4 separate regions of the Homo sapiens genome follow, and all the other regions are linked to region 2. The links are contacts of gene promoters, found by promoter capture Hi-C in blood cells and fetal thymus (Javierre and others, 2016). All regions are on one chromosome and are shown on one strand. The core of a region is centred on a gene start or on the middle of the fragment in contact, and the rest is flanking DNA. Distances in the headings are between cores, read along the strand shown.

The links. The method cuts DNA at HindIII sites, captures the fragments that hold promoters and counts their contacts. A CHiCAGO score of 5 or more calls a contact.
Region 1: the fragment with the promoter of KLF9 here is called in contact with the fragment with the promoter of CARNMT1 in region 2 in 1 of 17 cell types (total B cells); the score reaches 6.3 in total B cells.
Region 3: a contact is called between a fragment that was not itself captured here and the fragment with the promoter of CARNMT1 in region 2, in 1 of 17 cell types (erythroblasts). The highest score is 5.6, in erythroblasts.
Region 4: a fragment that was not itself captured here is called in contact with the fragment with the promoter of CARNMT1 in region 2 in 2 of 17 cell types (total B cells and total CD8 T cells); the score reaches 8.1 in total B cells.

What each region holds. Positions count from the first base shown.
Region 1 is chr9:70,413,140-70,416,767 of GRCh38, reverse strand. It overlaps KLF9 (KLF transcription factor 9), which reads left to right and starts at 2,111. Exons shown (of 2, transcript NM_001206.4): 1 at 2,111-3,628. The coding sequence starts at 3,405. It overlaps KLF9-DT (KLF9 divergent transcript), which reads right to left and starts at 2,578. Exons shown (of 4, transcript XR_001746710.3): 1 at 2,358-2,578. RefSeq lists enhancers at 2,399-2,528, 2,869-2,948, 2,777-3,628, a promoter at 2,260-3,062 and a silencer at 3,239-3,418. The HindIII fragment of the contact is 11,812 bases long and covers 1-3,628 here.
Region 2 is chr9:75,026,114-75,029,936 of GRCh38, reverse strand. It overlaps CARNMT1 (carnosine N-methyltransferase 1), which reads left to right and starts at 1,644. Exons shown (of 8, transcript NM_152420.3): 1 at 1,644-1,925. The coding sequence starts at 1,696. RefSeq lists a silencer at 1,423-2,112 and an enhancer at 2,763-2,812. The HindIII fragment of the contact is 4,364 bases long and covers 1-3,175 here.
Region 3 is chr9:71,890,045-71,893,772 of GRCh38, reverse strand. All of the region lies in intron 1 of ABHD17B (abhydrolase domain containing 17B, depalmitoylase), which reads left to right. Among named protein-coding and RNA genes, the nearest start is that of ABHD17B, 19 kb to the left of the region's middle. The HindIII fragment of the contact is 676 bases long and covers 1,629-2,304 here.
Region 4 is chr9:70,255,120-70,258,718 of GRCh38, reverse strand. SMC5-DT (SMC5 divergent transcript) reads left to right here. Exons shown (of 4, transcript NR_039990.1): 1 at 1-323; 2 at 784-804. Among named protein-coding and RNA genes, the nearest start is that of SMC5-DT, 2.0 kb to the left of the region's middle. RefSeq lists an enhancer at 1-174. The HindIII fragment of the contact is 423 bases long and covers 1,039-1,461 here.

The DNA.
Region 1 (3,628 bases), core at 862-3,361, 4.6 Mb after region 2:
AATCAAGTCAAGCAGCAGTTATGTTTGTAAATGTGTGAGAAATTCATGTAGATGAAATCTCAGTTTTCTTTCATTACTTTCTTTTGTAACTCTGAAATGAGTGAGTTTGGAGAATTCAGTGTTTATGTCCAGTTCAAACAAAGTGAAATTAAAGGGAATTAAAGAAAAGCTGGCAAGGAGTAAGGAAGGGAAAAGTTTATATTTTTAAAAAACCTAAAGTGACTGATGTATTCAAATTCCTGGATTATATAATCTTCAAGGAAAGATACAGACTTTTCCTCTATTCTGGAATAATGATGATGGTGGTCCTAGGGCTGTCTATAGATGTCCAGGCCCGAGCAGTCTGTTTCACCAGTACAATCCCAGTTAAAATGCAAGTCTGAGGGGTTGTACAGGCCATGATCATAGAGATCCTGGAGAGATCCCGCTGGTATATGCACTGGGCCTTGAGGCAGGCAAAGGTGCAATTTCTAAGTGATCGTGTATCCTAGGGGACAAAATTTGTCCCAGAAAAATCATGAAGTAGGCAAACTCCCCTGGGCTTCAGTGAATTCTTTTCTAAAATTAAGAGATTAAGTTCTAAAAATGCAAGAACTCCAAGATGGCTTGGAGTTTTTTATACACTGTATACCTACCTTACAGGGATGCATGCAGGGTGCTTGGTACAGGGCCTGACACAGAGTAAGCCCTCCATGAAAGGGGTCGGTGATAATGATGCTGATGGTGATGATATTCTTGGTTGCCCAGTATCCCCTATCTACACCTTTCTTCCACCTGCAGTCACCTACTGCAATATCTTCCCTGTACCACTTTAATATTTTTGTTGTTGTTTTCTTTATTTTTTTAAGCTGTACACTTTTATTGAACTGGTCTTGTCAGGTTTGTTATTTTTTAATTAAAATCTATTATACTCTTACTTACCTGAGCCACCCTTAGTTATGATTTAAAAAAAAACAAAAAAAACAGGGCCTTGCTCTGTTGCCCAGGCTGGAGTAGTACAGTGGTGTAATCAGGGCTCACTGCAGCCTTGACCTAGGCTGACGCAGTCCTTCAGCCTCAGCCTCCTGAGTAGCTGGGACTACAGGTGCGAGCCACCACGCCTGGCTAACTTTTTTTTTATTATTATTATTTTTGATGTACCACTTTAAAAACAAAGTCAAAAGAAACTACTGTAGATCTCACATTGGTAGAGTCAATTTGAGACCCTTGCCTCGGAGACCAGAACCTGGTGTAACTTTCTCTTAACAAAGGTTAATAGCCAGTGGGGGGTCAGGGTTGGAACTCACCGAATCTGCATCACATAGAATCAGGTACCTCTCACATTCACGAAAGTGAATTATTTTTAATGAATTGTGCTGACAGTATGCCTCTTGCAAAAAGAACTAGCCCTAGATTCTTTTCTAGCTATCAAGATGGAAAACAACCACATCGTTAATTCAGACGGAGGGGTAAACCAAGTTAATCAGACTCCAAGACCCATACTAATTGTTGACCAAGTAATGCCACAGTATTCCATGGCTAAGGATTTCCAGCTTGTTCCAGTCCCTAAAAATCTGTTCTGCACAGTTAATATTTCACAAAACCAAAAGGGCTTAGTTGCAAGCACAAAGAGCTAGAAATCAGGAGACTTGTGGTTTCTATTGAGTTCTATCATTATCTGTCTAATAAGATAAATAAGTCACTTCTCTGTAACTCAGTTTCCACATTTGTGAAGTGAGGGAAGAGAAACATGTCCTAAAAACCATGCAGGGGCTCTGGAAAGAAAAAGAGCTAAGAATGGTGGGTTTTTTATAAAAGTTACACAAATGAATGGTTTTTGTCTCCGTTTTTCTGAAAGTGGGTTAAAAATAGCCTCCAAATAAAGCTAAAAGAATTTATTTAGACTAAATTGCACCAGAGAAGTAGAGGAATTAAGAGATATGACAAGCAAAGATGGGATGTTTCAATGGAAGAATCTCAGGCAGTAAAAAGGCTATGCTGTAAAACCAGAACTTTTGTTAGCACTGCATTTTTAAGATGAATTGGTCATAGTTAATGTATTGGATGGAAGAATTTTTAAACATCTGCCCCAAAGTATGCTGCATCCAAAAAATATATAACAAAACGAATTCTTACTCATTTGTGTTTATTCTTGGACTTATCCTGACATAATGGGGTTTTTTTAATTATAGATTCACACTGCATTTATTCATCACCCCTGTCCTCTCATCCATAACTCAAATTTACTACCAGCAACACAAAATACAAAGATGTGTCCAGTTTCACTACAGCTCTTCGCGTTTACAAGTGTCGAGCGCTTGCTTTCGGAACGCCCTTGTGATTGGCCGAGCCAATGCCAGTGACATCAACCAACTTACTTTTGATTGGAAGGCTGGTTGCTGGGACTGTAGCGTTTGCAGGAAGTCACTTAACTGTTTGGGAGCTGGAAAACCGAAGCTGAAGTTCTCTTTTGCCATAGGAACGAGCGCAACTGACTAGGAAAGATGTGTCCCAAAGCTCCGCAAGCTGGAACGTGAGCCAGGAGGCCCGGACCGGCCACGGGACCGCGAGGCACTCCGAAAGTGTGCGGCTGCCCCTTCCCTGCCTCCCAGCTGTTACCCTTTTAAATGTCAGTGTTCGAGGCTGTAGGGGTAGCACGAGGCAGCGAAACGGAACAGTCGGATTGGCCGCACGCCTCAGTTCTAGACGCACCTCTCCACCGAAGGCCGTTCTGACTGGCAGGGGGAGAAAGTAAACAGAGTTGAATCACCCTCCCCACTGGCCAATTGGAGGGGGTTTGGTTTGTGACGTGATGGGATTCTGCGAAATTGTTACTGAGCAAGAGAATGCCGGAACGGTGCGGACCGGCCGGAGCAGGGGTTCAGAAGCCGTCAGTGGACTCGGGAAAAAGTGTCTCTTAGACCTGGCGCTCGGCGGGACCCTCGCCACCCGCGTCGGGGTGATCGGGTGAATGTCCTGGGGCTTTGGCTCGACGGCGAGGCGGCCGAGGGCGTGCACCTCTCTTGCAGTTTCCTCTCCCAGCGCCTCGGGGGCGTTTTCAGTCGAATAAACTTGCGACCGCCACGTGTGGCATCTTTCCAAGGGAGCCGGCTCAGAGGGGCCGGCGCGCCCGTCGGGGGATCGCGGCCGGCGCGGGGCAGGGGCGGCGGCTAGAGGCGGCGGCGCGGCGGAGCCCGGGGCCGTGGATGCTGCGTGCGGAGGCGCTGCCGGTTACGTAAAGATGAGGGGCTGAGGTCGCCTCGGCGCTCCTGCGAGTCGGAAGCGCCCCGCGCCCCCGCCCCCTTGGCCGCCGCGCCGTGCCGCGCCGCGCCGCGCTCGTCGTCCGAGGCCAGGGCAGGGCGAGCCGAACCTCCGCAGCCACCGCCAAGTTTGTCCGCGCCGCCTGGGCTGCCGTCGCCCGCACCATGTCCGCGGCCGCCTACATGGACTTCGTGGCTGCCCAGTGTCTGGTTTCCATTTCGAACCGCGCTGCGGTGCCGGAGCATGGGGTCGCTCCGGACGCCGAGCGGCTGCGACTACCTGAGCGCGAGGTGACCAAGGAGCACGGTGACCCGGGGGACACCTGGAAGGATTACTGCACACTGGTCACCATCGCCAAGAGCTTGTTGGACCTGAACAAGTACCGACC
Region 2 (3,823 bases), core at 395-2,894:
GTAATCCTTTGCACTTTCTTTTTGAATTTTGAAACATGTATTACTGCATTACTATTAATAGACTCACGTTTTAGAAAACTTTTATATAAAAATGTTGTCATTTTAAGCATTACCTTTATTTCAACTATTAATTTAAATTATGAAAATATGAAGCCACTTCACTTTCAATATGGTTGTAACTTTTTAACAGACTTTGTGGTCACTGGGCATATTTAACCCCTCGAATAAAGCAATCTTTCCCTTTTATCATTACTTTGTAAGACTCATTTGCTGGGTGGTGGATTAAATTGAACAGAATAAGTTATTTCTTTTTCTTTTCTTTTTTTTTTTTTTTTGAGACGCTGTCTCGCTCTGTCGCCCAGGCTGGATGGCACGATCTCGGCTCACTGCAAGCTCCGCCTCCCGGGTTCACGCCATTCTCCTGCCTCAGTCTCCAGAGCAGCTGCGACTACAGGCGCCAGCCACCAAGCCCGGCTAATTTTTTGTGTTTTTAGTAGAGACGGGGTTTCACCATGTAAGCCAGGATGGTCTTGATCTCCTGACCTCGTCATCCGCCCACCTAGGCCTTCCAAAGTGCTGGGATTACAAGCGTGATTCACCGCGCCCGGCCCCAGAATAAGTTATTTCCCAAGAGCCACCCTTAGATGCTGGTAGGTGTAATGGTCTTCCCAAGACCAGGTGCTGGATAGAAGGTCCTTGCATTTTCCTCATCTGTTGCCATCCTCAGTAAAGGAGGAATTAGGACTGCCGCAAGCCCCTAAAGACTGGAAAGATGGGACGGGCGCGATGGCTCACGCCTGTAATCCCAGCAATTTGGGAGGCCGAGGAGGGTGGATCGCCTGAGGCCAGGAATTCCAGACCAGCCTGGCCAACATGGTGAAACCCCATCTCTACTAAAAATACTAAAATTAGCCGGGCGTGGTGGCGCGCGCCTGTAATCCCAGCCACTCGGGAGGCAGAAGCAGGAGAATCGCTTGAACCCAGGAAGCAGAGGTTGCAATGAGCCGAGATCGCACCACTGCACTCCAGCCTGGGCGACAGAGTGGGGAAAAAAAAAAAAGTGAAAAGATGATGGCGCCCACTTCCGACCCCCTTAAGTAATTAAAAATAGGAATTCATTTAGGAAGTGAATTAAAACTTAAATTAGGGTGGATACAAGACGTTCCTTCTAGACTTTCTGAAATAAAAATTCCGAATAAAATCATCAAAGCCGAACTTTTCCTTTTTGCCTTTCCCTTCTTTGCTAGTGCCTGGGACCGCGTTCAGCCTCCAGCTCAACAATCCGGCACTCGCCGGCTTTTAAGTCCCACCCACGCGGCCGCGCACAGGTAACGGCAGTGCCAGTCCCACCCCACCTACGAGCTCCTCCTCCGCCTCCCACCAAGGGGCCTTGGCCCCGCCCTTGGAAGCGTGGTTGTGACGTCAGCGCGCTGTCTCCGAAGCCCGGCAGCAAATGAGCGCAGACCGCACGGGCCCTCCGCGTACCAAGGCACACGCATGCGCATTGGTTCTGGGAGCCCTGAAGACCTGGCGGAGCCCAGCGCGGATGGAGGCCTGAGGGTGGCGGGGGCGGAGCGCGCCGCGAGCTGGGGGCATGTCCGCGGCGGGCGCCGTCTAGAGGAAGGCCAAGCAGCCGCCACCACGCTGTCGGTCGCGGAGAGACGCAAGCGAGCCAGGCCGAGGGCCGCGGCGGCGATGCAGCGACGGCGTCGCCCTCCGCCGCCCACCTCCCGGCTGCCCGAGGGCTGCGGGGGAGGAGGCGGTGGCAGCGAGGAGGTGGAAGTGCAGTTTTCCGCCGGGCGTTGGGGCTCGGCCGCGGCGGTTTCGGCGGCAGCGGCGGCGGCCACGCGCAGCACCGAGGAGGAGGAGGAGAGGCTTGAGCGTGAGCACTTCTGGAAGATCATTAATGCCTTCCGCTACTACGGGTAAGGAGCCCGTGGCGGACCCCGGCCCAGACCGTCGGGGCGCCCACTGGTGGCGGCGGACCCGCCGGAACGGGGGCGCTCGCCGTCCCGCCGCCACGCCTCCGAGGCGTCGGGACCCGGCTGCTGCAGCTGACCTCCGGGCCCCGAGTCACCTCGCACCACCCCAGCCCCTCCCGGCCCTGCACACCCGCGTGTCCGCCGCGCCGTCTGCTGCACAGCCTCGTGTCTTCTGACCTCAGGATCAGATTAGCTCTCCTGCCTCCGTCCTCGTAAAGGTTTGGCTTTGAGGCCGATGGGGGTGACCAGAGAAGCGCTGTAACAATTTCAGATAGAAGACGATGGTGGTACAATCGTCCACTGCTGGGCTGATTGGTGTGTGTGGTCGATGTCCTCCAAACTGAACACACGGAGAGCCCAAGTTCACCTACGCGTGGGATGCTGTAGGACGTATTTTCCCAAACTGTTACCAGTGCTTGTAAGAGCAGTTTAAGATTTCCACCCACCCCTCTTTGGCGCTGTGAACGCACTTGCACTTTTGTGTGAGCGATTGAATGATGCTGCTCAGTGTCTTTAACTGGTGGGTGATTAAGGGCGGAAGTGGTCCGGATATTCTAAAATTTGCTAATTATTAGGAGAGATGAGAGAAGTCACAATAAGAGCTGCCTTTACGTTCTTTTTTTCTGCAAATCTGTATCTAATTCTCCCTGGTGTGCTAGGCACTGTGGTAGGACCTTTATGCTCCTCATTCATAAAAACAGCTCCCTAACTTCCACGTTTCTTCTAGATAGATGTTAAAGTAGCTTAATCACAAAATTATAATTCCAAGAGCTGAAAGGGACTTAAATCAACTGGATTTTCAGGTGAAGATAACACTTTTATTCACGTAAGAGATATGAGTCCACCGGTGACTATGTTCTGAGGCTGCAGTTGGAATCAGACAGACATGACCTCCTACGCAGGTAAACCTGTTCCCATAGGTGGGTTCCTGCTGTGCTTTATGCAAAGTTTTTTTATATTGTTCATCTTATGTATTATAGTTGTTTTTATAAATCTCTTGCTTTGCTGTGACCTCCTCAAGGGCAGGGGCTGAGTCTTTTTTATTTTTATGTCACTAGTGCTTGGCATATGTTGTTTAAGCTCTATTTTTAACAAAACAAATAGTAGCAAAGAAATACATTTCTCATTCCCAAATAGTCTGTCAAGTTTTTGACTGATAGTTAAATTAGTTTACTAGTCTGAATTTAGAAGCTTGCTTAGTGAAAGCTTAAAGTTATTTGGAATCTGATTGTATATGTGATAGGAACTTTTGAACTTCGAAGATCTTGATGAAATAATTTACTGATTAAACCCAGAAATAGGGACCAGGGACAGCATTACTTTACGGAGCCCAAAAGAGAAGTTTGGATATTTTATTTCTCCAGGTTTAGTAGTAACAGAGGGAGCAAGGCGTCAGACCATCAGAGAATTGAATTTGATGCAGGAATTGTGACGGAAAGAACCATAAAGTTAGGAAAGGCAGCTAACATCAGATAGCTAAGAGTGGGAGATACAGAAAAGTCTGGTACATTTTGCTCTTGAAAAATCTAGAAAGAATATTGGGAAATGTCTTGGGAATATGGTGGACCCATTTAGTTAAGTGCGTAGTTGTACTTACTTTTAATATATTAGGACCAATTTAAAATTGATATTTATGGGTAAGTATGGGATGGGACTTTGTTGGGGTAGGGGTTGATCAGGAACTGAAGTGTGGCAATATAGAGAAGAGATCTTGTGTGAATATTCTAGTGGTTGTGATACTATTTCCTATACTCTCTTCTTTACCAGCGTAATGTTGGATTCAGGACATTTCATTTTTTAAAAAAAACAGTTTTTATTTGTATATACTCTCTTGAAACACT
Region 3 (3,728 bases), core at 717-3,216, 3.1 Mb after region 2:
AAGCCATGCACCTCTAGGTAGCTATTGGATGGATGTTAGTTACCCAGAAACAGGCAGGATTAGAGGGTTGGGATTTACAGTCCTGCCTGTTAATCTCTGGGTAGGAGAGAGGGCGTGAAGGTTAAGTTGATACCAACAGCCAGTGATTTAATCAATCATTGCCTACTTAACAAAGCTTCCATAAAAATCCAAAAGGACTGGATTCAGAAAGCTTCCAGATGGCTGAGCACATGGAGGGTGGCATCCCCTTCCTACATGCCTTGCCCTGTGCATCTCTTCAACTGTATCCTTTGTAATATCCTTTATAATAAACTGGTAAATCTGTCTCCCTGAGTTCTGTGCGTCGCTCTAACACATTAATCAGACTGGAGTAAGAGGTTGTGGGAACCCCAATTTATAGCCAGTTAGTCAGAAGCATAGGTAAAACAACCTGGGGCTTTAGATTGGGATTGGAAGTGGGGAGCCCTCAACCTGTGGGATGTGACACTGTCTCCAGGTAGATAATGTTGGAATTGAACTGGGTGGGAGGACACCCACCTGGTGTCCACTGCAGAAGCGATTGCTTGCATTGGGGGAAATCTCTCATACATCTGGTCACAGAAGTATTCTGGTGATTGTTGTGGTGTGAGTGCAAAGGACAAAATAGTTTGTTTTAGGTACAATGGAATATTTTTCAGCCTTGAAAAGGAAGGGAAATTCTAAGACATGCTACAATGAAATAAGCCTGTCACAAAAGGACAAATATTGTATAATTCCACTTGTATGAGGTACTTAGAATAGTCAAATTCATAGAGACAAAATGGTGGTTGCCAGAGGCTGGCAGGAGAAGAAAATGATGTTATTGTTTAGTGGGTATAGAGTTACAGTTGGGGAAGATGAAAAATAAAATCTGGTGATAATTGCACAATAATGTGGATGTATTTAATGCCATGGAACTGTACACTTAAAATAGTAACTTTTATCTATATTTTACCATAATTTAAAAAACACAACATTATTTCCCTACAGTGACCAAGATACAAAAACCACTCATTTTGGAAAACAGCTGTAGGAAATGACAACCTCCCTTACTCTCTCACCTCTGCACTTCCCCCACCTTATCACCTGCCTTCCCCCCCCCAAATTAATTTGCTAAATGTAAATTTATGTTTATAAATTTTATATTAACTAAATTTTGGTAAATATAGTGTACTTGTTTAGGAGCTTTGTGTTTTTTGTTTGTTTGTTTTTGTTTTTTTTTGAGAGGGAGTCTCACTCTGTCACCCAGGCTGGAGTGCAGTGGCGTGATCTCCTCTCACTGCAAGCTCCACCTCCCGGGTTCATGCCATTCTCCTGCCTCAGCCTCCCAAGTAGCTGGGACTACAGGCGCCCGCCACCACGCCTGGCTAATTTTTTTGTATTTTTAGTAGAGATGAGGTTTCACCGTGTTAGCCAGGATGGTCTCGATCTCCTGACCTCGTGATTCGCCCACCTCGACCTCCCAAAGTGCTGGGATTACAGGTGTGAGTCACTGCGCCTGGCCAGGAGCTTTGTTTTTAGTAGCCGGAACAACTTTGAAAACCTGAAGTTTTTCAAATTATAAATTTCTTCATTCTTTTTATATACTATGGAAGATTGTATCTGAAGCTTATGAGAACATCTTAGTTACAAAGTTTTAGAACTAGAAGAAACCTTATTATCAGTTTATGCTTTTCACTTTGTAGAAAAGGAAAATGAGGTATAAAGAGATTGACTTCCCTAAAGTCACCAGCTTTTTAATAGTAAAACTAGAACTGAAAGCCATGGCTCTTTTGATTCTTAGTGCTCTTTGGACTACACTGTGCTATCGTGCTGTCCAAAGGCTTCGTTGGCATCTCACTAGAAGAATTTACTGGGTAAAATTTTTAATTACATTATTGGACCAAGAGTTAAAGCTGTACTATGTTCTCGAATATTTGTAAAGTATCTTCTGGTCCCATTGAAGAGATAAACAGAACATACTTGTTTGCCCTATAGACAGGGTATGAGTGTGTGTGAGAGAGAGAGTGCGTATGTGTGTGTTTGTGAGAGACAGACTGACACTGACTACTCTATCTCCAAAATCCTCTTTATTCTAGCAGTTACAGGAGTTCCAATTCTGCAGTCAGTCCTATTCAGACTATAGGCCTTCTGGGTCAATAGGCTTACACAAATATAAAGGAAACCCAATTTAGTTCTTTGCTTAGAAATATGAACAGTCAAGAAAGAAGCATTCCAACAGCATGAAACCCAAGATGAACAAGCATTACCTGAAAAACACAAATGAAGAGAACAAAAAGAAAAGCTTTATAGATATAGTGGATAGTCCTAGGATTCCTAAAAAGGAATTCCACATGGAACAGAGAAGATGGAGAGGAAATAGAAGAAAAATTATCTGAGCTAAGTAAAGACTCGGGGCTTTAGATCAAATGGACCCATTAAGTATAAAACAAAATGGACAAACAATAACACACATTTAGATAATAGGCTTATGAAATTTCAGAGCTAAGGATGTAGGGAAATCTCATAAATATTTTTGAGAGATGAGAATCACTTTTAAAAAATCAGATTGGTAGACACTTTTATTACTTGGTACTAGAAAATGTGGACCAATGATTTAAATTTCGAGGAGAATTTTAAGAAACAACCTATAATTCTGAAGCAGACCTAGTTTGCTGTAAGTGTGGAAGTATACATAACAGTGTAGTTTACTTCGCCAGACCTTTGGGTAAGGGGGTGGGGGGTAGTGCTTGGGAGTTGTAGTACAGCAAAATCAAACAAAAAAATCTTACAAAAAGGAGCTTGAGATTCAGAATCAACAGAGGTATGTGATGAAAAGAAGTACTAGGTAGGCAGGCAACTGGGCTGTGAACTAACCCAGAACATAATTATTTCAAATTAAAACAGAAATCACTGGGGTCTAAACATGTCTTTAAGAACAACATGGATTTTGTTGAACAAATTCTAATAAATTGGAATATGTTAAATGTAATAAAAAGGCAAAAACTTCAGAAAATTAAAGCCTCTTCTGAAAGTCCAAATGTGAAGCAAACGAAAATGTGCCTTATTTTTGAACAGTGAGGTGTAATTGAGTATCAAGAATGTAAACACCTTGACACTTGGAATTTAGTGACATAAAATTGCTGTTTATTCTCTGAGTTTTACCATGCCCCTTGGATGGGCAGTGAATGACACTGTAAGTACTTTTTATTATCCAATTAATGAGAATCAACCAATAGATAAAAACTTAATAAATTGCAAATGATATAAAACTTAATGTGAAACTTAATTGTATAGTCAGCAATAATGGTATATGATTACATGGGGGAGCCAGAAGAAACTTCCTAAAGTTGATAGAATAAGAAATACAGGTTCAGCTATAATATCTAAAGTTATAACTAATACAAACTAAAATAAATCAGAATGAGCATAGAAGGTGGGAATTAGGGTAAATCTTCTCAGTCTTTCGTGTGTGTGTGTGTCTGTGTGACAGAGTCCAGCTCTGTCACCCAGGCTGGAATGCTGTGGCACAAACTTGGCTCACTGCAACCTCTGTCTCCTGGGCTCAAGCTATTCTCCTGTCTCAACCTCCCGACTAGCTGGGATTGCAGACATGCACCGTCACTCCCAGCTAATATTTATTTATTTATTTATTTATTTATTTATTTTTATTTTTAGTAGAAACAGGGTCTCACCATGTTGGCCAGGCTGGTCTTGAAACTCCTGACCTC
Region 4 (3,599 bases), core at 1-2,500, 4.8 Mb after region 2:
TAGTATTTTGAAAGCCACTTTATTGCTTCCCGAGCCTCAGTCATGTGTGGTGGGAGGCTGCTGTGGGTGGCACCTGGGGCGTCCACGGCCGCCAAGGCGGGAGGACGTCAGGCCCTGCTTGCTCCCACCCCTTCCAGGTGAGAGCTCCCGGGCACGCCCGTCGTTGGCTCTTCGTCCTCTTGGTGTTCTTCCCTGTTGCTTCAAATCAGGTTCCTGTCTCAAAAATCCGAAAAAGAAATCCTCCCAAATGACTCTGTGCCCGACGCTCCGTTAAGGCATCGTGCTAGGCGTTCTCAAACTCGTGAAATGACTACACTGCACAGGTTAACCTCATTGCTACTCTTCCCCTTGCCTCCTAATTCTCTGGTTAAACTTCCGCCCCCGAGGTTTCTAGAAATCCCTGAGCTGGAATGCGCTGCCTTCATTAAGAGGGTGTTCTGCTTCCGTCTGCTCACATTCATCTAGTAAGCCCTCTCGTTAAAGAGGAGGCAGCACACCGAGGCCTGTCTAGAACTTCTTTCATTTAACCAACAGTGAATATCTAATCTACAAGAAACTGGAGCCGTGGCAGTTTAGGAGCCTGCCAAGGTTGCATCCCTGGGAGCTTATTTTCTATTGTGGGAGACAGGAAAAGAACAAGTGAATCAACTGTGAAATTAAATAATTCAAACTTAAAGCTGTTGGAACTTTAAATTATTCTGAGCCTTGCGAAGAATGTGGCGATGGGGCCTGAGTCCCATGGCATACAGCTGCAATGTCTGCCTTGTTTTTTCCTATAATCAGGAAGACCAAACAGAGACAGAGGTAAGACCCCCTCAGATCACTACCCCCTTCATAAATTAATATAGTTATCTTCCTTGGAATGTAGCTATCTATAACTAATCTAATCGCTGTAATTTATGCACTGCTCTTGTATTGAAAATGTACTCCTGCTGAACCTTCTCTGTTTCTGCCTGTGTAAATGAAACCTTAACTTCACTTTGGAACATTGACCCTATTTGTTTGGAGTTGGTGTTTCCAGGTGGCTGTCCTCAAGCTTTGCGTTAGAATAAACTCTATACTTAATGATATTTTCTGAATTTCACTACTTAAGGCTGACACAACAAATGATTAGCATAATGTCAGACTGTGACAGGTGTTAGGAAGAAAACAAAATGAACCTGATGGGTGGGAGGTACGGAAGGCCTCTTAGAGAGGTGGTGGTGTTTAAGATAAACTCTGAAGGACGAGAAGAAACTGTGACGATCTGAGAAAAGAGCACCCCAGGCAAAAGAATTTTGCTGGAACATACCAGTAAGGACAAAAGCTCTGAGGTGGGAAGGCCAGTGTTGCTGCAGAGCAGTGAACAAGGTTGCAGAGCAGAACCTTGTCCATCGTGGAAAAGCCTGAATTTTATTTTTAAAGCAATGGGAAGCCATTGCAAAGTTTTAAGCAGGAGAGGGCCATGTTCTGACTAAAGCTTTTAATTTTTTTATTTGATTTTTTTTATTTGATTTTTTTGAGACAGAGTCTCACCCAGTCGCCCAGGCTGGAGTGCAGTAGTGCCACCTCAGTTCACTGCAAACTCTGCCTCCCTCGTTCAAGCGGTTCTTCTGCCTCAGCCTCCCGAGTAGCTGGGATTACAGGTGCATGCCACCACACCTGGCTAATTTTTGTATTTTTAGTAGAGACGAGGTTTCACCATTTTGGCCAGGCTGGTCTGTAACTCCTGACCTCAAGTGATCCGCCCACCTCGGTGTCCCGAAGTGCTGGCACTACAGGCATGAGCCACTGTGCCTGGCCTTAAAGTTTTTAAATAATAATTCTGGTTGCTGTGTGGAAAATGGATTAGAGGGCACCAAGTGTGGAAGTGGAAGGCCACTTAGAAAGCTATTGCAGTAGATCCCTGATTCCTGACTCCTAGACCAAAGCTCCTTTCCCAGGTCTCTGCTGCTTCCTCTCACACAAGGACTCCGCTCCAGAGAAAATAGAGTAAGTAAAAAGCATGTGAACTTGTCGTAGTTACTGGAAATTTTCTTAAATGCAAATGAAAATGAGAGAGACGGGAAGGAAAAATCATTGAAAAAATTCAGACTGCAGCAGCAGCCTACCTGAAAAGTCACAGCAACAGGCAAAAAATAAAACAACCTTGGGAAAACCTCAGGTTGCACCTGGACAGATAGACAGCTTTAAGCACAGATAAACAAGCACAGGAGTGGGAGAGTCTCGACTTCATACTCATACAATGGGCCCCAGTAAAAACTGTGAGACTTAATAAGTACATTCCTTTCCGTTTAGGCCCACTAAGATACGGAAGCGAGAAGCTTATACAGGGAGGGTTGGGGGATGCCTGCAGCTGCAAGAAAATGTCTGGGAACAGACACAGAAACTTAAGCGACACAAAGCAGCACAGAGCAGCATAAACTAAAAGCCTGCTTATGTGATCAAGGAATTGGGTAAAGGCTGTTAGGAACTCTGCTCTATGCCGATAGCACACCTGGTCCCAACTAAATCTTCAGGCCCTGGGAAGATAAGACACCCCTCCTCACTAGTCCATTTATAAAAACCCTGACGTTTTTACTACAACTTGGCAGTCCAGTCAGACTCCCCTCTCTAATGCAGAGAGCTTCTTTTCTTTCTTTCACTTATTAAACTTTTGCTCCAACCCCACCTTTGTGTCCACGTTCCTTAATTTTCTTGGACGTGAGGACAAAGAACCCAGGGTACTAGTTCAGACAATGAGAAACTGCTACGTTAAGGTGCGTTGGTGAGACTGCAACAAAAATAAAGAATAATTTTTAAACTGTTCAAATGGCGGTGAGTAACGAAAAAACTCAGTGCTCAGGAGGGCACAATACTGTCCTTCCCTGAGTTGCTAGCATGAATTTTTTGAAAAGTAAAGGCTCTGCTTCAAGAGCTGTAGAAAAGTCAGATTGTTTGATGAAGTTACTACATTTAGGGGAATCTACCCTGATGAACAAATAAGAATTATAGACATTAGTAATGGGAGCTGAGGGCAGGGAGCTAGTCATCATTTTTGTACAATGATCAGTCCTTTTTTTTCTTCCCTTTTTTGGCAATCAATAGCAACATTTATTTCCTAGATCCCCCAGGAGAGGGGTAAGGAGCCAAGAAACCCCACATTATAAGACTTGGAGCCTCTGAAGTAGCTGTGTGAATAGCATGATTAAATAATTTCAGATTTTCTGTGTCTTCTTGAGTCAGTTTTAATAGGTTGTGCTTTTCAAGTAATTTGTCCTTTTCATCTAAGTTGTCAAACTTATTACATGAAGTTATGTGTTAATATCCATTAACGTTTGCAGCATCTATAGTGATGCTTCCTCTTTCTCACTTGATACTGGTAAATTGTTCATTTCTTCCTCTCATTTATTAATCTAGTAGAGGTTACGTATGTTTTATTAATCTTTTTAAAGGAACAACTTGATTTTTGCTTTTGTTGACTTTTGATTTCATAATTTCTACTTATCTTCGTAATTAACTTTCTGTTAAAGTTTAATTTGTTCTTTCCCCTCCAGCTTTTTAAAATTTGTTCTTTCCTCCTCAGCTTTTTAAAAATTATTTTTTGAATATATATATATTTGTACATATTAATGGGGTAC